Regions from separate parts of the Homo sapiens genome. Here all the other regions are linked to region 3. The links are contacts of gene promoters, found by promoter capture Hi-C in human tissues and cell types (Jung and others, 2019). All regions are on one chromosome and are shown on one strand. Each heading gives the region's core, a stretch centred on a gene start or on the middle of the fragment in contact. The rest is flanking DNA. Distances are from core to core; before and after follow the strand shown.

Region 1 (3,325 bases), core at 280-2,779, 200 kb after region 3:
CAGCTAATTCTTGTACTTTTAGTAGAGACAGGGTTACACCATATTGGCCAGACTGGTCTTGAACTCCTGACCTCAAGTGATCCACCTGCCTCGGCCTCCCAAAGTGCCTGAGCCACTGCACCCGGCCCCATACTTGTTAATATGAAGAAAACTTAAGATAAAATTAAAATCATCAATAGAACAGTAAACGCAGTTACCTACCATTCAGTATGGCCCTCACAGAGGCAAAGCAAGGCCTAGAAGAAGAAAATAGGCCACCTGTCTTAGAAAGCAAGGAAGCAAAGAATGGGTCTTTCTCATTCACAGCATTCTCCTCGCCCAATCTCCCAGGATTGTGCCAAAGAACTTGGCATCAACTAACCATACCTGAAATTGCTGCCAATGTGTGGAAGTCTTAGCCAGATTTGTCCCCATTTATATTTATACTCAAGTGGACAACTGTCACCAGGTGGCAGCAAACCACAGCTAGGACCAGGTCAGATTTGGATCATGCAGCTGGATTCCTGTAACTCCGGGCCAGCTAGAAATAACACTAGTGTGATCAAATTTTGTTTCTGAGATGGGGTCTGCTCTATCACACAGGCTGGAATGCAGTGGTGCAATCATAGCTCACTGCACCCTCAACCTCGCGGACTCAAGCGATCCTCCTGCCTCAACCTCCCAAGTGGCTGGGACTATAGGCACATGCCACCCCACCTGGTTAATGTTTTTTATTTTTTGTAGAGACAGGGTCTCACTATGTTGCCTAGGCTGATGTCGAACTCCTGGTCTCAGCAGTCCTCACCCTCACCCTCCCAAAGTGCTGGGATTACAGGCCTGAGCCACTGCACCCGGCCTAATTAAATATGTTGAACCCCACCTATCTCATTACGGTGGAGTCTTACTACCAATCAGATAATTATCCTGACCCTTCTAGATATGACTTTCTCGATGTAGATAATATTTTAATACTTTTATATAGTTATATATTAAAATAATACTATTTATGCCAATGTAATATGCATGCATGTAAAACACACTTTATGTGAATGTATACCATTACTACCCATTTAATGAAATAGGAGATGAGTCCATTGAGATATAAATAAATGAATAAATTAGAAGTTCAATAGCAATAGGATGTTTATGTAGTTTCAAAGCACCTCCTCACAAAATACTCATGAATTACAAGGAAAAAGTAACTTGATAGTGGAGAAGCTTGGCAAACATCTTCTAAGTGACCCAAGTGGACATCACCAGAAATGAGACAAATCAAAATCATGTACCACCTAAAAAGAATATAAAGAACATAGGGAAAATTTACCCAAATTGAAGGAGATTCCACAAAGTAAGTGACCTGTACTGCCGAAACTATAAAGGTCATGAAAGTCTAGGACATGACTAAGGAACAATTACAGGCTGAAAGAGACTACACAAACAGGATAACTAAAAGCAAATACTTGGCTCTGAACCAGATCCTTCTGCTATGAAGAACATTATTATAACTGACAAAACTAAATGGGGGCTGAGAATTATTAACTTCATAATTGTTGATAATAATTATAATGATGTGGAATGCACTTGTCTGTAGGAAATACACTTTAAAATATTCAGAGGAATGGTGAAACTATCAGAGGTTGGCAACTCACCCTCAAATGGTTCAGGAAAATAGTTCTTTGAATTTGTAAGTTTGTGGTTGTTTAAAAATTTTTATTTTAATTGTTTTTAAAAAGAGTGCCTACCAAAGGATACGAACAAACATACTACAATGTTTGCCTAAGGATTCAGAGGGGAATAGAAGTGGGAATGGAAGTAAAAAGAAATTAATACACATATGCATACCAACAAGCAAGAAAAGGCCTGGAAGGCCAAAATGTTTAAGAAGTATTAATGAGAAGTATGATTATGAACTGAACTCTAGAACAATAACCAAAAAATTTGGTTTAAGTAAATATTGGCCTAAGTGACTGCATCTGGGGGCAGGGCTCACCTGAAGTGTGGCTTTATGCTGGAGGTAACCATAGGAAGTAAACAAAAGACTCACTTTCTCTCCATTTTTATAAGAGCTGAAAGGGGTTGCTAGTGAATAATGGGGAAGAGTAGGGAACTGATTGTTCCTTATTGTAAGTCTTACACCACATGTTACTCTTAAAACTATATATGTGAACTATTTTTATAAATAAACAATTAAATGTAAAAAAGGAACAAAACAAGTTTGAAATCAGTAATATGAAGGCAAAAAGGAATCCCGATTGGCAGGATTTGTAGGGGCAGGCAAATTTAAGAGGTTAAGATTAAGCCAGAAGTCGGGAAGCTAGATATGCAAGTCAGTTATCAGCCATAAGGACACAGATGAAACTTGGTATTGCAGAGGGCATCAAACCATGAGTTTGGTAGGCTCGTCTGTTCAGCTGATTTATCAGGGAATAGTAGATCTAGTATCATGGAATGAAGAATGGTTACAGGTGACTGAGAAATGAAGCAACTAATGGCAGCCTCACGCCCAGTCTCTGCAGCGATCCTCTTTGCAGTTGCTGCCACTTTAAACACATCCACAGAATCTGGGCATCCCTAACTCCTAAGAGAAATTCTGACTTGATTTTTAGAGCTCTAGATCCTCAGCCTCAATCCAATCCTTAATGGTCTAATTACTGGACGCCAAGCTGAATACCACTGTGTGCTCTAATTCCAAAATTCTTGTTCTGATAGCATATTTAGTTTCTGCTTGCCATGCCCCACGTACTTCTCTCAAGGCTGTACTCTGTCACAGACTCCAGCCCAGTGCGTTTCTCTGGTCCTCTTACCAAACAACTGCCTGACAAATTTCTGTGTAAATATCCAAGTGTCACCTGCTTTGGAGGCAGGAAAAAATATAGATATAGGCAGACAAACTTGTATAGGCTGCAGAACCAGGAATGTAAACTAATCACTGAAACCTTGGACAACTCCCTGTGAACCTTAGTTTCCTATACATATAGAATTGGGTCAGTGGTACTTGTCTCATTGGGTTGGTGTAAGAAATACAAAGAGGGGGTCTGGTTCTGTTGCCCAGGCTGGAGCGCAGTAGTAAGATCTTGGCTTGGCTCACTGCAACCTCCACCTCTTGGGCTCAAGTCACCCTCCCATGTCAGCCTCCTAGGCAGCTGGAACTAGCAGCACATGCCACCACACCGCCTGACTTTTTTTTTTTTTTTTTAAGTAGAGATGAGGTTTCACCATGTTGTCCAGGCTGGTCTTGAACTCCTGAGCTCAAGCACCCTGCCTGCCTCAGCCTCCCAAAGTGCTGGGATTACAGGCGTCCATCCATACTCTTGATTCTTAAAACAACCCTATGAGGCAGTTATTA
Region 2 (3,552 bases), core at 302-2,801, 240 kb before region 3:
CACCTCTTATTCTGCAGTTCTTCACACTCATAAAGGGTGTGTACGCACACATGTAACCACATACAAGAGCAATGATTCTCACTTAGAATCATAGGGCATCACAACTGGAAGGGATCTTAGAAACCAATCTACTACTACTTAGAAACTAATCTACTGATAAAAGTGAAAACTGAGGCACAGAGAAAAGTGAAGGGACTTGCCTAAGGTCATATGGTTAGTTAATGGTAGGGCAGAAACCAGAGCCCAGGCTTTTTTTTTCCCCTCAAGATTTGGTGTGCCTGCTGCCATCTTTACTACTGTGGCCTCTGTTCACGCTATTCCTATTCCACAGTGGAAGCTCTCTGCTTTTCAGCTTCTGCCTTCAAGGCCCAGCCCAATTCCTACTCTTGTGAGTCCTTCCTCAAATACTTTGCTTACATCAATTTCCCCTTTATCTAAACTTCCTTAATTATGAGTGGTCACTACCATCTTGCTTATCACATGATCTCCTGTTATTTCTCGTATTTAATTCTCTATTCTTTCACTAAATTTAACTTTTCAGATTAATAGTAGATCATCTCTAGGATCCTCTAAAGCACCTAGCATGGGGTAGGAATTCAGTAAATGCTTATTGGCTAAGTGGTTTCTTTAAAGCCCTTGTTTCTTTATCTTCTAGAGTTGTTTCTCTTACTGGTTCTGTAAGAAAATTACTATAAGAAAACTCAGGCTGGGTGTGGTGGCTCATGTCTGTAATCCCAGCACTTTGAGTGGCCGAGGTGGGCAGATCATTTGAGGTCAGGAGTTCGAGACGAGCTTGGCCAACATGGTGAAACCCCATCTCTACTAAAAATACAAAAATTAGCCCGGTATGGTGGCGCACACCTGTACTTCCAGCTACTCAGGAAGCTGAGGCAGGAGAATCACTTGAACCCGGGAGACAGAGGTTGCAGTGAGTGGAGATCACACCACTGCACTCCAGCCTGGTTGACAGTGAGACTCCATTTCAAAAAACAAAAAAAAAAAAAAAGGAAAACTTGTGTAGTAGTTTGAGAATTTTTTTTCCTCTTCCTGTGTTCTTATAATGTAAAGTCCTCTTCTCCTTAAAGGTTTATGTGTTTATAGCTGAATTTTCTCTAAGATTCTATGTTTACATTTGACCTTTGTCATTAAAAATCTATGGGTAAACTAATACTTCTCTTAATATGCATAAGTAATGCAAATTATCCTTTCCCCAGAGGCAATGCCACTTGCTTTGCTTATGGACAGACAGGTGCTGGAAAGACCTACACCATGATAGGAACTCATGAGAACCCAGGATTGTATGCTCTAGCTGCCAAAGATATCTTCAGGCAACTAGAAGTGTCCCAGCCAAGAAAGCACCTCTTTGTGTGGATCAGCTTCTATGAAATTTACTGTGGACAGCTTTATGACCTCCTAAATAGAAGAAAAAGGTACTGAATATGAGTGGGAAGCGATAAATCTGTTCATCGCTATTTTAAGCCAGAGTCCCGGAGAATCACTGAATCATAGGCTTTAATGAGATGCTTTGGTACATTAGTGCCCTTTTGTGAAATGAGGCTCCTGCATCAGATACATATTTTCTAGCTGTCAATTCAGCTATAGGAAAATGTAAATTAGCTTTTCATTAATATTTTTTAAAGTGTTCAATATTCTAATGTCTATCAAAAGACTTTCCCTTTTATTTTGGTCTATGAAGAAGGTCATAATTTCAGGAAGTCAGGAAATCAACACGTACTTAAACCCCTTCCTGTTCTTTTGACCTATTATTATACTGGAAAAACTATAAATAATGTTTTCTACTTTCTCTTGTTTTTCCTCTAAATAATCTTAGGGTAAACACCATGATAGTTTTCTGAAATCAATAAGAAGAAAAGAAAATCTTCTCTTTAGAGTTTTAACCCTTGTTAGGCTTAAACTATTGCTCTTGCAACATAATATAGTAATTTAGAAATGTATTCAGTAACTCTGCTTTTAAACACCTATTATATTTTTCTTGCATGAAGTTTTGTTTAGGTTGAAACAGATGACTTAAACTGAGTAGGAGGCAAAAGAAGTTGTGGAGGAAATGGGAGAATAGAGGTTAGAGGGAATGGGGGAGGTGGAAGGATTAAAGGCTGTCATAACAGAATTAACCAGATTTGAGATGTTGGAGGAGTGAATTGAGGCTGAGCCTCCTGGAAGACTAGGGAAACCTAATCAGCTTGAGACTAGCCCGGCAACAAAGGTATCTAAGCCTCTATGGAGCTGTCCAAAAGGATGCACAAGTTTTGCATGCTCCAAGCAAGCAATGGAATGGGGAGTGGGGGAGCAGTTCCAGTTCAATAGGGAGACCATGATAGGGCAGGCCCCCATTGTAGAGGGTCAGTAGGGTACTGAGTAGCATAACTGGAGAAGCCAGCGAGTGGGCTTAGGCAGGCCTCTCTCCTATAACTATTCCAGTGAAAAGGGGACCTTCAGATATGCCACTTGAGATTGTATAGGTGTTCAGAATTCAGTCCTGACCAAACAACTGCGAAATAAAAGAGGGTGCTACTCTGGGGATGCTTGAGGAAGAGTTGCCTTTCTTTTTTACCTTCTTGGTGTTGAAGTCTCGAATTAGCTCAATCACAGCTTCTCCATCAAGCTCCAATGCCCTCATTAGGAGCCCTTTCCAGTCAGAATGCCCACTTCCCTTAAAGAACAATTGCCATGGAATAAAAGCCACTGTGCTGTGTGTGTGTGTGTGTGTGTGTGTGTGTGTGTGTGTGTGTGTGTGGTTTATTTGGGTGAAGGGAGGTTAGGATATCTAGCTCTTTCTGAACGCATTTCTTTAATGAATTGCCCAGATTATTTTATTGCCCTGTATATTTGCATTCCTCAGTTGTAGCAGGGGAATAGGCATATATTAACTCTTGGGTTTGATGCTTCTCTGAGGCTCACTAGGGAAGACCTATGCTTACTCTACAAGTGTCATGGCCTGTGGGGTTCATGTATATATATATATATCCATTTAATTGTCTAATCTAATCTATTTCCTACCTTTCTGGGGCTTCTGAAATGTTCTGGTCCATTGATGGCACCCTTTCCTGTTTATGCTGTTATGCTTTACCCTGTTGATTTTTTTTTTTTCTTTTTCTGAGGCAAGGTATTGCTCTGTCGCCCAGGCTGGAGTACAGTGGTGCCACCACAGCTCACTGCAGCTTCATCCTCCTGGGCTGAAGTGATCCTCCCATCCCAGCCTCCCAGGTAACTGGGACTACAGGTACATGCTACCATGCCCTGCTAATTTTTATTTTTTGTAGACACAGGGTCTCCCTATGTTACTTACCCAGGCTGTTCTCAAACTCCTGGGCTCAAACAATCCTCCTCTCTAGGCCTCCCAAAGTGTTAGGATTACAGGTTTCAGCCACTGTGCCTGACCAATTTTTAAATAAGATTTATTTTCTATAATAGTGGGGCTTTGACAAGGGTAGACAAAAGTATGTATGTTCAGTGTGCCTCTTAAACTGGAAAACAAAGCTTAAGGATCTTGAAATTAATTCCTAGAAGTAGAGGATAAATTGTTTTTATACC
Region 3 (3,805 bases), core at 129-2,628:
GGGACTGCAAAGTCCTTGTATGTAACTAGCTTGGGATAAAACAGGCCAGTAAGTAGACCTTGAGAGCTTGTTTAGAGGACCTTGAGAGCTTGTTAACACGGGCGTGCAGCTACTCCTATATCCTTGACTTGTCCTCTTCTATGGGGGATGCTCCTCCTTTTCGACCGAATATGCAGCTTCGGGAGGGACGCACATGGAGAGGTGCGGGAGGAAGGGGCCACCCGCCTAGACAGCCAGATCAGCCGAATCAGCCCTGGCGATCTATGGGGTGACAAGATAGCCAGAACGCCCTCACATCCAAACAGGCCAGTAAATGGAAAATACTTTAAAACACCATGCTACAATTATAAACCATCATCTTATTTATTCGTAATTCTTGGAGTTGACAACAGGTCAGATCCTATTGAGAGGAGGTCATTAATTTTCTAAAGACAGAAAACCTGGGTCTCTTCGGTCAACAAACAACTCTAAGGTTCTTTTTTTAAATCCTTAAATAGGGAAAATCCTGGACTCAAGGAGTTGATTATATGATATAACAGAAATAAACGGCTGACTTGGAGTAGGCGTTCAGTAGATTCTAGTCTTTTCACCCAGAAGGGGCTTGGGAGGGCAAAAGTAAAACCGCACTGAAAAAGACTAAAAGTGGGCGCACCTTCCGCCTTGCCGAGGCTCTCGCTGCTAGCCGTTGGCGTTTTCCCGCGCAGGGGGCAGGGCGCAGAGCGAGCCCAGGAACGTGGGAGCGGAACCCCACCCCCCGCCAGGACTACACCTCCCAGCAGGCACCACGCTCCGCCACATGGCGGGCGGCATCCAATGGTATTAGTCCTTCAAGCCAGCTTAGTCCGCTTTCCGTCCCGGCCTTCCCTCGGCTCTAAGGTCTCTAGGGGGTTCGTCTAGAAGCCCGCTGGAGAAAGGCTGCGGTAGGGGTCGCCTTGGCTGTGCAGCATGTTGGGAGTCGTGGTCCCCTCGTGCAACATTTGGGAGGCCAGGCTTGCCCTGAGTGGTTGGACCACATCACGTGATGAGCACAGGGCGGCCACAGGGGAGTAACCTGTGGTGCTTTGTGAGGTCATCACGGCGCGACGACGAGCTGCAGTTGTGGGCACCTTGTATGCGGTGGGTAATACTCTCCTGATGACTCCGAGTACAATACATATTATCAAGTCTCCCTTATTTGTTCCTTTCTGTGGTCCCCACCTCCACGCGGTTGGCTTCGCGGGGTTGGGGTGGAGGTGGTGGCTGGAAGAGGCCGCGCGCCGCCTAGGCTGACTCTGAAGCCGCGCACGAGCGACGTGTTGTGGCTCCTCCTTCGCCCGTGACGCGAGGTCACGTGACGGGTTGGGCAGCCTGTGCCGCCGCCGCCGCTTTGTAAGAGGCACATTGGCAGGTAACGAGCGGCGGCGGCGGCAGCGGGTCTTGGGTCCTCCGAGAGCAGCAGCGGTAATTGCCATCCTCTCCCTCTCCTTCCCTCTTCCAGGGCCCTGAGCGCTGCAGCGTGTGCTTTCTAATTCTGGGTTCAGCTCGTCTGAAACCCCACCGCCTGCAGACTGCCCCGGCGCCCACCCGTGAGGACCGGGCCGAGCTTCACTCGCCAGGTCCACGGTCCCTCTACGTCCAGGCCCGGGCTCCCTCCTTCCTCTTCCCCTCACGTTGCCCTGTGCTTCTTCCTACTTTCCCCCGTCCAGGTCGGCTGGGCCCCACCCAGCCCCAGGGGTGCCTCCCCTCCCCCCTTTCGGGTTTCTGCCCTGGAGGGTGTGGTTTTCTCTCCCACCTCGGTGCCTGCCAGTAGACTGGAGCTTCCCCGCCACGCTGTCGGTCCCATCTCATCACCTTTCCGCTTTCACGCCCGTAGCTAGTCTTGGGACTGGCCCTGTTATAGCCCCAACTTATGCGCTCTCTAACCTTTCCTGGCTTACCCGGAGTCACAGTTCAGTTCTACTTCTTTTCAATTCTGTAGGGCATTGGTCTCAATTGGGACTCAGTTTTCCTCCACACCCGCCGTTCCTGTAGTCTGGTTATATCACAGTTCATTATTTAATGTAGGTTTTTGAGCGCTTTGTAAACGGCAAAGCTCTCTCTGTTAATAATACATACTCAAAATGTTATTCTTTCATTGGTGCATTACAACTCAGTTGTTTGCCTCTGAATCACTTTCCCACTCGGCTTTTCCACATTTTCCCCTGAGTTTTTAGTCTAATTAGTTGCCCACGCATCTCAACTGTCACCACTCTGGTCTCTAATGCTTGCTCGCTTTAGGGGTTGATCCCATCATTATTACTGTTATTTCCTGTTTGATGTAATCCAGTCATTTACTACCACTTCTATTGGATATTGTTTTTACCTCACATTCAAGGAAGGTATATGGTTTGCCAGTATTTAGGCTTATTGTCTTTCTACAGCACCAGTGTATCCTAACAGTTGAGAGATTTTAAAAAATTACTATTAATTTTAGAGATATGGTCTCCATATGTTGCCCAGGCTGGCCTCCAGCTCCTGGGTTTAAGCGATTCTTTCACCTCAGCCTCCTGAGTATCTGGGATTACAGTGTGCACCACGGTGCTCAGCTAGTTGAGGGTTTTTTCAGGTCTCCATAAGGTATCCAAAGATTATCTTTTATTTGAAGGGCATATAATTTCTTGGGTGAACCCAGTTCTTATATTCCTCTTCCGTTGTGACAGCACTTTTTTCAACAAGGGGTATGCGACTAGTTATTGCATTCCTCACTTTTCACTGTGAATTGTGTATCCGTTTTAGTGCCAGTTTGTGAAAGGTGGAAGGAAGTTGAACATGATACCTAAGCTCTCCCGTATCCTACATTGGTGTGTTCCCCTTTTACCTCAGGAAAGGGAATGTATTCCACTCCCTGGAGATGATAGTTTCCTTCAATACACTCACCTGTGGAGCCCCTTCGCTAGGGTTGTCCTTCCATTGCTTTGAAGGCTTCTCTTATCATTAGGCAGAAGTGATTAGTTTCCCAAACTGCCCTTTTGCTTGCTGCCAGCATACTCCTGATTTTCCTACTTATGGCTAGTTGATACGTGTGACGAGAGATTTTCCCACAGCGCTGATTTCCCCCATTTGCTTCCCTGTTGCCTCTCACCCTCAATAATTATGAAACCTTTCAGAGAAGGAAGGTTTTTGTTGTGATTGAAATATGCCCGAAAGTGGTGGCATGGGAGAGAATGAGGCCATGGGAAAGGGTTGTGGTAATTGCCTCTCTTGCCTGTTTCCTGCTGCTCTGGTTTCCTCTGTCCTCCCTTTAAATGTGGGCTGGATCAGCAGTAGTCACATGGAGTTGCCTTTAGAACTATATTGGAACAACAATAACACCTCTGCTTCCCTTTCCTGGTTACTAGTGCAGTCTATGTAGTGATCACCAGGAGTGTCTCTCTTAGTATTAGCCTGAGTGACTTTTATTGTATGGGGAGAAATGGTGTGATGGTGTGAGAACATGTAGACTAATAGGTTTATTTCAATATGTACTTGTATTGTGATGGGAACTGGTCCCGGTATCTACCCTCTTAAGTATAAAATATGTGTAGAAAGTACAAACCTTTCTTGAAGGTTTGGAGTGGTCTGAAGTGAAGCCTTCTTTTTTTTTTTTTTTTTTTTTTTTTTTTTGAGATGGAGTCTTGTTCTGTCGCCCAGGCTGGAGTGCAGTGGCCTGATCTCGGCTCACTGCAAGCTCCGCCTCCCGGGTTCACGCCATTCTCCTGGCTCAGCCTCCCGAGTAGCTGGCACTACAGGCACCCACCACCACGCCCGGCTAATTTTTTGTATTTTTCAGTAGAGATGGGGTTTCACT
Region 4 (3,393 bases), core at 154-2,653, 150 kb before region 3:
GTGTATGCTAAAATAAATGTCAGAACAGATGTCTTTAAAGTTCTATTAAATATTTAAGAAACAGATTATTCCTATTTTATTTAATCTATTCCAACACATAAAATGGAAACAAATATATATTTGTAGCTTATCAATTTATTCAGGATTTGTTTATTGTCTGTCTTCCCCACTTGCCTTTATGCACTACGAGGACAAATACCACTTCTGTCTCATTCACCATTACACCAAGCATAGTGCCCGGCCACAGTAGTGCTCAGTAACTCCTGCTGAATGAATGTTGCTGAATTCCAAGTTCTCGTATGAGATCAGCATAACACTGATACCAAAAACTGACAGAGAAAAGAGAAAAAAGAACCAGAAATGAAAGCATATTTAATTTTTGTTGATCCTTGTTTTTAGAGACAGGGTCTTGCTCTGAACAGCCCAGGTTGGAGTGAAGTGGCATGAACATTGCTCACTGCAGCCTCAAACTCCTGAGCCCAAAAGATCTTCCTGCCTCAGCCTCCCAAGTATCTGGGACTATAGGAATGTACCACCACACCTAGCTGATTATTTATGTTTTATCCATACATACCCAAATCCTAATTAAAATAGTAGTGAATTAAACTGCAAAATCCTGACTGTAGCAAACTTTTAGAAAAAGTGATTCAGTTTCCTTCAACACAAAAAAAGCAAGATGAAAAGAGAACCTACAGACTGAAAAAGATCTTAAGGAATACATCTCAAGCAATCACTAACTTACAGACCTTATTTGAGTCCCAATCCAAACACATGAGGAAAACACAATAAAAAAATTGAGAAAACATGAATATTTGATAATATTAAGGAATAAGTTCATTTTCTATAGGTAGGATAATGCTATTATAGTAATTTATGTGATCTTTCAGAGATATACAAAAATAACTTGACAGGTTAAATGATATGACTGGGATTTGCTCTAAAATAACTGGGCAGAGGGTATGTATATAAAACAAGATTGACAGTTATTGGGGCTGTATGGTGTTATGATACATACATATACGGGGACGGGGACACACACACACACACACACACACACACACACACACACACACACACACACACACGTTTCTGTCTACAGCTTCTGGCCCATAACTCCCATAGCCCTTGCTGGAGTCTTCTGTTATAATGCTAGGTATGTCAGGCCTCAGAAAACAGAATCTCTCAAATCTTTTCCCACCCTCCCTTCAACTGTCCTAAGGTAGAACTCTATCTCTCCCAATACCCCTTTCTCATTGTGAGTCTTAAGCCCCTCTCACAGGCAGGGCAGGGTGGCTCACTCCTACAATCCCAGCATTTTGGGAGGCTGAGGCGGGAGGATCACTTGAGGTCAGGAGTTTGAGACCAGCCTTACCAACATGGTAAAACCCCATCTCTACTAAAAATACAAAAATTAGCCGGGCGTGGTGGTGCATGCCTGTAATCCCAGCTACTCGGAGGTGGAGGTTGCAGTGACCCAAGATGGTGCCACTGCACTCCAGCTGGGCAACAGAGTGAAAGCGTGTCTCAAAAGAAAAAGACGGAGACTCCCACTCTGTACTCTGGGAGAAGGAATGCTAACATCATGAAGCTTCCATAAAAACTCAAGAGGACTGGATTTGGAGAGCTTCTGGCTAGCTGAACACCTGGACGGAGGTTCGTGGATGGTGACACCCCAGGGAGGATATGGAAAGTCAGTGCACCTTCCCCCCTACCTTGCCAGACAAATCTCTTCATCTGTATACTTTGCAATCGCCTTTAGAATAAACCAGTAAACATAAAAGAGTTTCTCTGAGTTCTGTGAAACACTCTGGCAAATTAAACCTAAAGAGAGGACCGAGGGAACCCTGACATGAGTGAAGCTGGTGGTCAGAAGCACTTGAGGCCCAGACTTGTGACTGATGAGTGCTAGGGGGCAATCTTGGAGACTGCGCATTCAACCAGTGGGATCTGACACTATCTCCAGGTAGACAGTGTCGGCATTGAACTGGAGAACACCCAACTGGTGGCAGCTGCTTGGTGTGTGGGGAAAACTGCCCACACATTTGGCCACAGAATTCTTTTTCTGTGTTGATAATTGCTGTGGTGGTGTGTGAGTAGAAAAAAATAAGAGTTTTTACAAAGCAGGATTAATCTACATTTTTGTTGTTGCTGTTGTTGTTGTTGCTGTTGTGACAGTCTCAGTCTGCCACCCAGGCTGGACTGCAGTGGCACGATCTCAGCTCACTGCAACCTCTGCCTCTGGGGTTCAAGTGATTCTCCTGCCTCAGTATCCCAAGTAGCTGGGATTATAGGCACACACCACCACACTCGTTAATTTTTGTATTTTTAGTAGAGTTGGGGTTTCACCATGTTGGCCAGACTGGTCTCGAACTTCCTGACTTCAGGTGATCTGGCCACCTCACCCTCCCAAAGTGCTAGGATTACAGGCATGAGTCATGCCCAGCCAAATCTACTTTTATGAGTTTGGAACTTTCTAAAATAAAGAACTAAAACAAGGCTGGGTGCCATGGCTCACACCTGTAATCCCAGCACTTTGGGAGGCCAAGGCTGGTGGATCACCTGAGGTCAGGAGTTCCAGACCAGCCTGACCAACATGGAGAAACCACGTCTCCACTAAAACTACAAAAAATTAGGCAGGCATGGTGGCGCATGCCTGTAATCCCAGCTACTCACTCGGGAGGCTGAGGCAGGAGAATCACTTGAACCCGGGAGGCGGAGATTGCGGTGAGCCAAGATCACGCCATCACACTCCAGCCTGGGCAACAAGAGCGAAACTCCATCTCAAAAAAAAATAAAATCACTTAAGCCTATATACAGTTTAACATTTTTATAAAGCTCACAATTAAGCAAAAATAAACAATATATTATTTAGGAATATATATCATGTGGTTTATAAAAGGAAGGAAATGATAAACCCAAAATTCGGGAGAACAGCTAACTCTGTGGAGTAGTAAAAGGATAGGATAGGACAGAAACAGACAAATAAATAAATAGTAATGTATTGGTAATGCTCTAGTTTTCAAGACAACTAATAAGCTTGCAAATGTTTATTATTATGCCTCATAACTTAGATGTTTTACATTCATATTTTTTCTGTATGTTAAACATCATACAATGAAAAATTCTAAAGCATATAGCTCTAAATGCTACAAATTCTGTTTAGCAAAAATTAAAAGTTTAGATCAGGTTGGCAAACTAAACATCTATCCATCCTAATCATAATCTCTTAAAAAATAAAACCGTAATAGCACTAACAAACCCCCTCCTAAAAGGGTGGCTCCTAAAAGTTATCAAGATACCACAAATGAAGTCTTTACAAAGGAATGAAGATCAGACTGACAGAGAAACAAGCCCTATTCTCTGGAGAAATGACAGATTCTAAGGCCAAGGCCA
Region 5 (3,420 bases), core at 391-2,890, 210 kb before region 3:
TTTGCATTGAATAGGGTGACGTAGCTACCTGATACTTTCTTGGCTCTAAGACTTAGACCACTGTTTCGGCACAAAAAAATAATGGCTTCAGGCAGTTAAAATGAATGAGCTAGATTTTCTATATGTACTGATAGGAAAGATGACCAAGATCTATTGTGATGTGAAAAAAGCAAGCTGTAGAACAAGGTAATAATGTGATTGCCTATATGATTTCTACTATTACGCAGCCACACAGGGAAAAACGTTTAAAAAGATGCAGAAGAAACAGCATTGGATCTATTTGGAAGTAACAATGGGAGTAAAGGTGAAACTGCAACTTTTCATGTTAAAAGATCATGTACTGTATGACCACTTTCTGTTTTTATCATTTTTAAAATGTGCGACATGGAAAAAAACACTACACAAAAAAATGACATAAATGTTAACTATGATTATTCTTAGTGGAACAAATAGGGTTTTTGTTTTGTTTTGTTTTTCTGTCATGAAAGTGTGCCTCTTTATTAACAAAAAACTCCAGTAGATGTTAAATCAGCATTCATAATGGCTGCGGAAGAGTGGCATGGGAGGGTGTACCTAGGTATAAACAGCTGTGAAGACAGTTGTGGGTGTCCTGGGTTCTTTTTCGCCTTGTGTCCTGTGCACAGTGGAAGACAGACAAGGTAGAGAGATGTCTAGGAGAAGATTTTTTTGTATGCTGCAGGATGAAGCCAGCCCCGCACATGGGCAGAGTTTTATTCTGTGCAGCTAGAGTAGCGGCTCCATAGTACTTGGGCAGAACCTGTAAAAACATAGTTCCTTACCCATCACAGTTGGTGATCTGTAGGTTAGGTCTTCTCAAACATGATTTTAACCAGGGACCCAGGAACCTACTTATAGGTGGTTAGTCCTGATTCTGGCATTGGCTCTGTTGCTTTTTACTTATTTATTTATTTATTTTTGAGAGGGAGTCTCACTCTGTCGCCCAGGCCGGAGTGCAGTGGTGTGATCTTGGCTCACTGCAACCTCCACCTCCTGGGTTCAAGCGATTCTCCTGCCACAAGCCCCTGGAGTATCTGGGACTACAGGTGTGTGCCACCATGCCTCACTAACTTTTGTATTTTTAGTAGAGACGGGGTTTCGCCATGTTAGCGAGGCTGGTTTTGAACTCCTGACCTCAGGTGATCTGCCCGCCTTGGCCTCCCAAAGTGCTAGGATTACAGGCATGAGCCACCGTCCCCAGCCAGCTCTGTTATTTTTTAAGACAAGTTCCCCATTTCCAGAAAATGTGTTTCTTTTTAATTAAAACATAAGAATTCCAATTGTACATACAAGTATAAAGAAGAAAGTAAAAGATAAAGTCCCAGACCTCAGTGATAACCACACACTGCTACGTTAGTGAACTTCCTTCTAGTCATCTCTCTGCCCGCATAGCCTCATATGGATCTGCTTACGGAGTTATGGAGTCATACACCTTTTTCCCTCGAAGATAGAAGCTTTAGATATCTTTCTGTGTTCCTAAGTACAGGTATAATCATTTTTAATGGTTTTATTATATTCAGTGTATAATTATTTAGTTTGTTCCCTGTTTATAGATACCTAGATTTTTACTAAATATTACTATTATAAATAATGTAATGAATATCATATATACTTTTTTTGGTCAATTGGGCAATTATCTCCTTAGGATAAAGTCCTAGAAGTGTGATTGCCAAACCAAAACATACTTTTTCCTGTTTTTGAGACAGGTTCTTGCTATGTTGCCCAGGCTAGTCTTGAACTCCTGGGCTCAAGCGATCCTCCTGCCTCAGCCTTTTGAGTAGCTGGGACTACAGACAGGTGAGTGCCACTGTACCTGGCTTCTTTTTACATTTTGATACATATTGCCAAACTGCCCTCTGGAAAGCTTGTCCAGTTCATGGTACATGCTAGCGTAGAAGAGTACTCATTTCCCTGGACCCTCACCAAGGAATGGCATCGTTAGTCTCTTAATCTAATGAGTTAAAAATATTGGTTTTTTTAATGGTTTGTTTGCATTTTTTGGATTAGTGATGTGGTGAGTACCTTTTTCTGTGTTTATTGGCCATTTGTATTTTTTCTTTTGTTAATGTTAATTACCTTTTTGTGGACAGAAGGGAACTATGGCCCAGCATCCTGCACCTAGTAAGTAGTCAGTATGCACTTTGTTAATTGACTTCACTCATTGACCTGCCTTCTGTTTTGGACAGGTCCTGAAGGACTCTTTCATCGGCAATGCCAAAACCTGCATGATCGCCAACATCTCACCAAGCCACGTGGCCACTGAACACACTCTCAACACCTTGCGCTATGCTGACCGGTAAGTCAGCTCCCAGATGGCAGGTTGTGTGTAAGTGTGCATGTGCATGTCTGTGCAGCACGCGTGTGTGAGCATGTGTGCACGCGTGTGTGTGTGCAAGTGCATGCACATGTCTCTCCCACTCACACACACATAGGGATCTGACCTTGAGCGCCACAGCCTTGTTCTTGGCAATTAGTCATTTGAAGACTGTGACCTGGTAGGCCCTGTCACTTTGCAAGCATGACAAGAGGAAAATGACACATTCCCTTGTTCAGGAGTTAATTCTGTCAGTGGCTTTTAAATGGCTAGTGAGAAGTGAAATATTAATGGGTGGAAGGCTCAGTGTTGTTTTCTTCCTGCTGGCCTCAGCCCAAATTGTAAGAGATAGAAGACATATTACTTGTCAAGGCAGAATCACTTAGAGCTATCTGTGTCCAGAAGGGCCCAACCCAAACATGTTAGAGGATAAACTGAGGTCCAGAGAAGGGTAGGATCTTTCCAAAGGCTCACTAGGAGTTGGTGTCAGAGCCAGCAACTCTTGACTGCCTGGCCAGGCCTCTTTGTGGGTGACTGTGGTATCTGCTGGGATCCCTTCCATCTCTCACCCTGTGGTCACATGTGCTCTCCTAGTAGGTAAGATGTTTTTGATTGCCATGACTGGGAAGAAGTGCTACTGGCATCTAGTGAGCAGAGGCCAAGGATGCTGCTAAACATCCTTCAAGAAATAATTATCTGGTACAAAATGTCAATAGTGCTAAGGTTGAGAAACCCTGGGAATAGACAAGTCATTTTTCCTTTCATGGAATGAGCACAAGCCTGTGTATTTCTGGAGGTTTTGCTTCCTGAGGTCCCAGCAGGTTTGAGGGAACTCATCTTCCTAGAGAAGCCTGAAAGGGGGTGGTTTGCAGAAAAAGAGGACTCTGTGGAATTGCAGGTAAGTGGTGGACACGAACTCCTGAGTTGGCCTCTCTCCAGGAAGCAGTGTGGGCCCTGCATAAACACAGTGCACTTCTGAGACTGGCGTCTCTGGCCTGTCCCTTACATGGGGCTGTGGTGATTTCCAAAAGGCTTCTTCTGATCATGGAATGTTGGGTGCATGCTTACATCCTCAGAGAAGACACTGT
Region 6 (3,468 bases), core at 912-3,411, 140 kb after region 3:
GTGGAGGTTGCAATGAGCCGAGATCGTGCCATTGCACTCCAGCCTGGGCAACAAGAGCGAAACTCTGTCTTAAAAAAAAACAACAACAAAACAAAACAAAAAACTATTTCAACTGCTAGCTCATTTTTTTGTTTAAAAAATGAGTTTAAGTGTTTAAAATCCTTATTCATTTACTGTATTTTCTCAGGAGAAACAAGAGGTTGGACTAGCAAAATAGACCCTGAGGGCCCATCATCCCCAGACTCTCGGTTCCTATAAAGAATAACTGTAGTACCCTTTGCTTTCCCCGCCCCTCCACAAGAACACACTGGTGCACCACCCTTCTCTACTCCACGTCTAGAGGAACAGATCTGATCTATCTCAATCCAGCAGAATACATGTTTAACATTTATTACAACAAAGAACAGACCTAGAGGGAATTTGGGATAAGAATGAGGGCCAGAGAGTTCTTAGTCTCTGTGGTTCATTACACAATTCCCACTGCCACCATTCAAGGAGTTAGAGATACTCCCAGAAATAAATGTGCTCCTTCTGCCCCTCTTTATGCCACAGCGAGGCAATAAGATAGGTCTTTTCAGGATAGAGGATCTAGGCCAAAAGAGAAAAATGCTAAGAAGAGAAAGGAAACACAGAAAAAAAGGACAGGCAAAAGCACCTCACTTTACAGTCTTGAGGTTCATATTTCAGATCCTTTTGCCTGCTTCAGTTATCTTTGGTCAGAGGTTATTTAGCTATCTTGTTCTGAATAAAAAATAAGTTTGTAAACAATAAAAACCCTCAAAGAAAATGAAGACCAACACATCATATATAATATATATTGCAGACTAGCCAACAGCAAATCAAGCTGTGAAGTTCTGCAGAGCTCATATGTGTTTAAAAGACAAAGCAAACTTGGGTCTCACCCGGCCCCCAGGCTCCAGTGCAGTGGCAGAATTACAGCTCACTGAAGCCTTGACCACTTGGGCTCAAGTGATCTTTGCACCTCAGCCTCCTGAGTAGCTGGGACTACAGGTGCACACTACCATGCCTGGCTAATTTTTTTGGTAGAGATGGAATCTCGTCATGTTGCCCAGGCTGGTTTTGAACTCCTGGGCTCAAGCAATCCACCTGCCTTGGCCTCCCAAGTTGCTAGGATTAAGGACATGAGCCACTGCGCCTGGCCTAAAGAAGTATTTAAGGGAAATTGGAAATTAGGATTGTATGACCCAATGCGTAATACTCCATTTGCCCATTTTCAACATGTCGATAACCCTTTCTCTGTTAGCTACTATGTCACCATAAGCATAACTTTAACAGGGTTGTGATAGCCCTAGCATCACAAATAAGACCTGGCTCGAGGGTCTGCCTGGAAACCAAGCAAGAAAAGTTCATAATTTTGAAGGATTACAGACTGGCACCTTCCCCTGGTCCCACCTCCCATGTATATATCATCCCTCCAGACAGCATGGGAGAAGTAGAAAGGGCTTATTCCTAAAAACCAAAAAATCTAAGCTTATGCCAGGTGTGGTGGCTCACAAGTATAATCCCAGCACTTTGGGAGGCCGAGGTGGGCGGATCACCTGAGGTTGGGAGTTCAAGATCAGCCCGACTAACACGGAAAAATCCTGTCTCTACTAAAAATACAAAATCAGCTGGGCATGGTGGTGCATGCCTGTAATCCCAAGTACTTGGGAGGCTGAGGCAGGAGAATTGCTTGAACCCAGGAGACGGAGTTTGCAGTGAGCTGAGATCGCACCATTGCACTCCAGCTGGGCAACAAGAGCAAAACTCCATTTCAAAACAACAACAACAACAACAACAACAGCAACAACGACGACGACGACAACAACAACAACAAAACCTGAACTTACTTCACGCCATAATCATGGGCAAGCATGCATGTATGCACATGTGCACACACACAAACACACACGCAGATTGATTTAGATATTGAGTTTTATAGACCCAGCGTAATGTGATGACAGTTGATGTGTGAAGTCCAGGTCTCTGGAGCCAAACCTAAATCCTGCATACTGTTACTACCACTCTTACTGACTCTGGGTTCTACCCTGACCTTTCTAGTTGTCCTGGGTCCTTAAAATCTCTCATTTCCACTCTATCAAAGGATGGGCCAGTAACTACAGATGACTAGTTAAAGCTCAGTCCTCATTGCATGTTTCAATGTGGGGGAGGGATTTAAAGAGGACATCATGACAAAGAATAAAGAAGCCTGTTATGATAGGGAAAACAGGGCAACTGATGGTAAAATATAGTAGCTTAACGGGTTTACATTATTATAAAGTTTCTCTTTAGGCTGCTAAAGCAACCAACAAATATAACACCTCCTTCTGTGCAGTGCTGGATCTGCTGCTGACTGATGTATCCCTGAGAATGCAAGGTAGGAATACAACTACAGTTTTTAAATGCCCAAATTATGTATCATCTGCAGAGAATGGAATTGGCAGGTTGAGGGCAGTGGGACCCCATGCACAAAAACCAAGGAAGCAAATAAATAAAACCACACTGTTCCAGAATTGGGTTTAAAAGAGCTTTAGGAACAGCATGGTTATGCCTGTTTCCCCTGACTGTGCTTACTTTGGCACCCAATGCTAGGGGTGATGTCTCTGGCTCTCTGTTCTTAAGACTAGACAGAAAAATATCCTACCCCACTTCTGAGACAGACTCTTTTATACCAAACAACAGCCTCTCTTGATTGGGTTAATAAATTTGGTTTCACGCTTTATTTTTGAAATTGAAAAAGAAAACATTATGTATGCCTCTTTCAACATAAAGCAAATCCACACCAAGACCACTTCACCATCCCAGAGCCTATAGCAGATAGTAGTTCTGGGGATGGTGTCTCACAGAAAGCAGCTGTGAACTCTATAGCAAAGTCTGAGGGCTTTGCTACTCCCACTCCCACCCTACCCTATCCCCAAAGCTCCCACATCATTCTAGACAAATCATGTATTAAGGCACATTTTGTTTCCTCCATCAGGAAGAGGCATAATGCTGTGAACTTCTAATCAAAGACGTGTGGCAACTCCCAACTCCATTCTTGCTGACAAATGCCTACTCCTTAAAACTTTCCAATTCAGGAAGAAACTCTCCCCACCACCTCCAGCCCCACCAATTTAATCCTGGGCCTCTGGGAGGAGGAGGCCTGTGGATGTTTTCTTTCAAAAGAAGTATGCTGGTTTTCCCAAGAGGTAGCAAGCTACCGAGCCTTTAGTGAACACCAGTTGGCTGATTCTCTGCATCCCTAAAATTCTTCCTTTTCAGGTTGGCTAACTCTCACTACTCACCAGATCTGATAATACAGACTGACTTAGACTCTTGAAGGTAACTGGAGTCCCTTATTCTTCAAGTTACAAAAGTGCTCCATTTGCCACTTTATGTTATAAATATGTCCATTGAGGTGCTGAACAATAGTCTTGAGTACACGTGGTTATGGAGAAGAAAACCAAATACGTGAATATGGAATCACTT
Region 7 (3,499 bases), core at 289-2,788, 250 kb after region 3:
GTAGGCAGCGGTTCTCAGCTCTGTCTATACACTCTACAGTTACCAGAGGTAGAGTGTTAAATACTCACTGGTATTCACACTGTCTTCCTGAGAAGTTTGAGTTAATTGCCCTGGGGTAGGACACAGGCATCAGTATTTTCAAAAACTCTGTCTTAGGTCGCTTTAATGTGTAGCTAACCAGCAAAAGGTACTTGCCTGCTTTTGTCACTAGCTCTGACAACTCCAAGATTATCCCTGCCTGCTTTTATGACCACAACCCTTGCTGTTTCATGGATTGGCCTTGCTCTGGAGAGTCAGCTGCTGTCAACAAGTTTTCTTTTCCACCACCTCTCCCATCCGTCTTACCCAACCTCAGTACTTCCCTGGGCTGAAGCCAAGCTCTCCCAGGCAGCCTGGCTGGGAGCTTTGCAGTCAGGGGCCCCACACTTACGTCTTGTAGCAGTGAGCTGCTGATACCACCCACTGTTCGCTGATGAGGGAGCCACCGCAGAAGTGGGAGCCAGAATTCAGGGACACCTGGTAGGGGAGAGAATTCTCCTCACAGGTGTAGCCCCCAACAATCTTGTCATCATCGTCAAAGGGGACAGCAACTGGAGTGGAAATAGGAAGGGAGAAGGCAAGTCAGTAGCATGTTAGGGGTGGTGCTCCCAGCCTGCGGTTGCTTCCTGCCAATTAGAAATCCTTAACAAGCCCAGTGAGGCCAGGCAAGGGAGGGAGCGCTGCCACCCCTGGTGAGCATCACTGGATGTGGCTCCCAAGTCTCTGTGTCTGCAGGGCACGTAGCTAGGTACCCTGCAGGGGCTCAGATCTCTCCTGGGGACACCAGGCTGAGGATGCAAGGAATGTCCTCAAAATGCTTCCAGTGGGGTAGCAGTTGGTATGTTGTTGTCTCACCCACTGAGTGCTTCTCTCTTTTATTCATCACCTGTGTACTTGCCCTGGCTATTTGAGCCCTGGATTGTCAGGATACTTTGGCTAAGCTAGGAAAACCCCCTGTCTGGGTAGACCTGGCCATGACTAGCTTCCCCCATAGCTCAGATCTGTGCAGTGAGGGCAGAGTTGAGGGCAGCCCCAGGCTCACTTTGGCATAACAAAGGTAGACTTTGTTATTGGCCAATAGAAGAGCAATTCTTAACTTTGGCGGCATGCCTGGAAACGTTAAAAATCACCTGGGAAGCTTAAAAGCCCAGTACACAGGCTGCACCCCAGACAAATGAAGTTAGAACTTCTAGAGTTGAATCTCTGGCATGAGTAATTTTTGAACCTCCCCAGGTGCATTCGAGGTTAAGAGCAGCTATAGTGGTGCTATACTGGTGCTCTTGGAGCCAAGCCTGAAGCCTGCCACTTCATTTCATGGGCCAGCCCCACCTGGTCTCCCTTCCCAGCTTCTCCAACCACAGCTCGGATATGGATGAATGACAGTGGTGGGAGTGAAATGAGGGAAAAGGTGAAACAGGTGAGGCTTAAAGAGAGCCCAAGGAGGATGGGAAGGAGATATGTCAGATGGAGGAAATAGAATATCAGAGCGCAGTCAAAAGAGGAGAGGTGGCAAGAATGGCAGGGCATGTGTCTGCCAGGAAAGGGGGTGGGTGGGGCCTGAGGCAGGTCATGAAACTCGCCAGCAGCTCCCACAAAGGCAAGGATCAGGAATGGATTCATGGTGGTAGAGTGTGCCTGACTGGTGGTGGAAGGCCTGTCCTTATACCCTTCCAAGAATCAGGAGAGGAGGTGTCTGTGAGGTGAGGGTCACAGTTCTTCCCAGCACAAACACACCTGCAGCTTTCCCCTTGCCAGGGTCTTGCATCAGCTCGGCTACGTTTGGCCACTCTGTGGGTTTGTGATTCACAGGTGATAAGGAAACTTGCCTTCTGAGAGCAGAGAGGGAGACTGGCTATTTCCTGGAAGGATGCTGGGATGGGGAAGACAGGGGAAACCAATCCCCGGATCACACAGCTGGGCTTTCGTAGGCCGAGGAGATGAGGGTTAGAAGGAGGGAGAATGGCCTGGGTGTCTAGGAGTCCTTTTAACTATTGGGGATGTATTTAATAATGTACTTAAGGAAGGGCAAGCATTGGTAACAAGCTTGGCTTTTCAGTTTCCTGGAGCCCCCACGAGAGGAGGAAAGTCTTATCTAAGGCTCATTTTTGTGAATATGAATATGCTTCTTTGCAGTCACTGTGCACAAAGGTCAAATCCAAGACTTTGGGTATCCAGAATTCCAACACTAAGGGGTAAGGAGAAGGGAGACTTAGCATTCCATAGGATTCTGGGCTTCCAGATGGCTCTCCTTCCTACCAAGGCTTAAAAGGATGGGAAGTGTTTCAAAGAAGGAGGGGACACAGGTTAGGTAGGAGCTTACTCAGTGCATCTGGAGGATGGAAAACCAATGGCGCACTCCTCCCCTTCTTCAATGTGAAGCCACTTGTCTCTCTCATGTGCATCCTGTCATAGGTTCTTTTTATGCAGCCTCACGGTTGTCCTGGCAACCTGCACTTAGGGTGATGCAAACTGACTCACCTGCTCAGGGCTGACAGCCTGAACCAGAATGACATGCCCCTGATCAGATGTCAGAGTTTGGACCATGGTAAATCTGGGTTACCATCTGATCTGAGAATCAGCAGTAGGTAGAGATTTTAGCACATGGTAAATGGGTCACATATTGGGATCAATAAGAAGATGTGGAGGGGTGGGTCTAGAATTTTCTATTTTAGATGCAGTGAGATTATGCTGGGCTTAGTATCAAGTGAATCTTCCCAGAGAATATCCTGATTTGGGCCCTACCAAGGCTACTAAGACACAGTTGTGTAATTGACTGAGGCACAACCTGGCCAGAGTAGTGTGGAGATGGAGATGCTGTCTGTGATCAAGTCTAATGATGTAAGGAAAGGAGGAGCTTCCTTATGAGGGTGCTTTCCCTTCTCAGCAACTCTGAGCTCAGGTTGGTGATGGGCAGGAGTGAGCAGAGTTCAAGTTTAAATTCTTTGAAAAGTAAAAGAAGCAGAGATGTTCTGGAGATGGTGAACAAAATGAGAAAAGCTCAGAAACTTCGTGTTGAGATCGGACATGGCCAGGGGGCTAGAGGGAGGAAGCAAATGGAAACCAGAGGGAATTGGAAAAAATGCGAATGTGGGGCCCGTGGAGTTGAGAGGACACACAGAGTACCTTCAGGTTCAGCTCCTGGCATGGCCAACGAGCCAGCTTCCCCAAAGCCAGGAGATCCACTGCTCAGAGACCCGCTCTCCACCCCACATCCCCTCTAATCACTGATGGGCTCATACCTAACACTGCTGTACTTAGATGGTGCATGGTGCCTGACAGCTTTACAAGAGTTTTCACATAAGCAACAGTGGTACATTGCTTTTCAGTTATGCTGAGTTTCACAGTTTGACTTCCCACAAACATGCTAATTGTGATTTGTGCAGAGCAAAATTATTTCCATTTATAGAGGAAGAGACTGAGATTCAGAAGGATTCTGTCTTGCCCAAGAATACAGATCTTG

Evidence for each region. The method cuts DNA at HindIII sites, captures the fragments that hold promoters and counts their contacts. A contact is called where the count stands out against the background at its distance.
Region 1: a fragment that was not itself captured here is called in contact with the fragment with the promoter of UBAP2 in region 3 in 1 of the 25 tissues and cell types used here (liver).
Region 2: a fragment that was not itself captured here is called in contact with the fragment with the promoter of UBAP2 in region 3 in 2 of the 25 tissues and cell types used here (IMR-90 fibroblasts and small bowel).
Region 4: a fragment that was not itself captured here is called in contact with the fragment with the promoter of UBAP2 in region 3 in 1 of the 25 tissues and cell types used here (mesenchymal stem cells).
Region 5: a contact is called between a fragment that was not itself captured here and the fragment with the promoter of UBAP2 in region 3, in 3 of the 25 tissues and cell types used here (liver, mesenchymal stem cells and spleen).
Region 6: a fragment that was not itself captured here is called in contact with the fragment with the promoter of UBAP2 in region 3 in 2 of the 25 tissues and cell types used here (hippocampus and liver).
Region 7: a fragment that was not itself captured here is called in contact with the fragment with the promoter of UBAP2 in region 3 in 3 of the 25 tissues and cell types used here (dorsolateral prefrontal cortex, liver and mesenchymal stem cells).

What each region holds. Positions count from the first base shown.
Region 1 is chr9:33,849,541-33,852,865 of GRCh38, reverse strand. The region is part of intron 1 of UBE2R2 (ubiquitin conjugating enzyme E2 R2); the gene reads right to left. Among named protein-coding and RNA genes, the nearest start is that of UBE2R2-AS1, 32 kb to the right of the region's middle. The HindIII fragment of the contact is 6,885 bases long and covers 1-3,325 here.
Region 2 is chr9:34,288,052-34,291,603 of GRCh38, reverse strand. It overlaps KIF24 (kinesin family member 24), which reads left to right. Exons shown (of 13, transcript NM_194313.4): 5 at 1,215-1,430. Among named protein-coding and RNA genes, the nearest start is that of KIF24, 39 kb to the left of the region's middle. The HindIII fragment of the contact is 4,720 bases long and covers 1-3,552 here.
Region 3 is chr9:34,046,460-34,050,264 of GRCh38, reverse strand. UBAP2 (ubiquitin associated protein 2) reads left to right here and starts at 1,378. Exons shown (of 29, transcript NM_001370062.2): 1 at 1,378-1,440. It also overlaps the pseudogene RN7SKP114. RefSeq lists enhancers at 1-555, 746-1,275, 556-1,411, 1,412-2,268 and silencers at 1,306-1,395, 1,546-1,595. The HindIII fragment of the contact is 41,306 bases long and covers 1-3,805 here.
Region 4 is chr9:34,200,317-34,203,709 of GRCh38, reverse strand. The region is part of intron 1 of UBAP1 (ubiquitin associated protein 1); the gene reads right to left. Among named protein-coding and RNA genes, the nearest start is that of UBAP1, 23 kb to the right of the region's middle. The HindIII fragment of the contact is 7,642 bases long and covers 1-3,393 here.
Region 5 is chr9:34,258,490-34,261,909 of GRCh38, reverse strand. KIF24 (kinesin family member 24) reads left to right here. Exons shown (of 13, transcript NM_194313.4): 10 at 2,205-2,314. Among named protein-coding and RNA genes, the nearest start is that of KIF24, 69 kb to the left of the region's middle. The HindIII fragment of the contact is 3,150 bases long and covers 66-3,215 here.
Region 6 is chr9:33,904,449-33,907,916 of GRCh38, reverse strand. All of the region lies in intron 3 of UBE2R2 (ubiquitin conjugating enzyme E2 R2), which reads right to left. Among named protein-coding and RNA genes, the nearest start is that of SNORD121B, 28 kb to the left of the region's middle. The HindIII fragment of the contact is 6,422 bases long and covers 1-3,468 here.
Region 7 is chr9:33,793,734-33,797,232 of GRCh38, reverse strand. PRSS3 (serine protease 3) reads right to left here and starts at 1,672. Exons shown (of 5, transcript NM_002771.4): 1 at 1,620-1,672; 2 at 431-590. The coding sequence starts at 1,659. The region is part of intron 3 of UBE2R2-AS1 (UBE2R2 antisense RNA 1); the gene reads left to right. RefSeq lists an enhancer at 623-1,123. The HindIII fragment of the contact is 4,072 bases long and covers 1-3,499 here.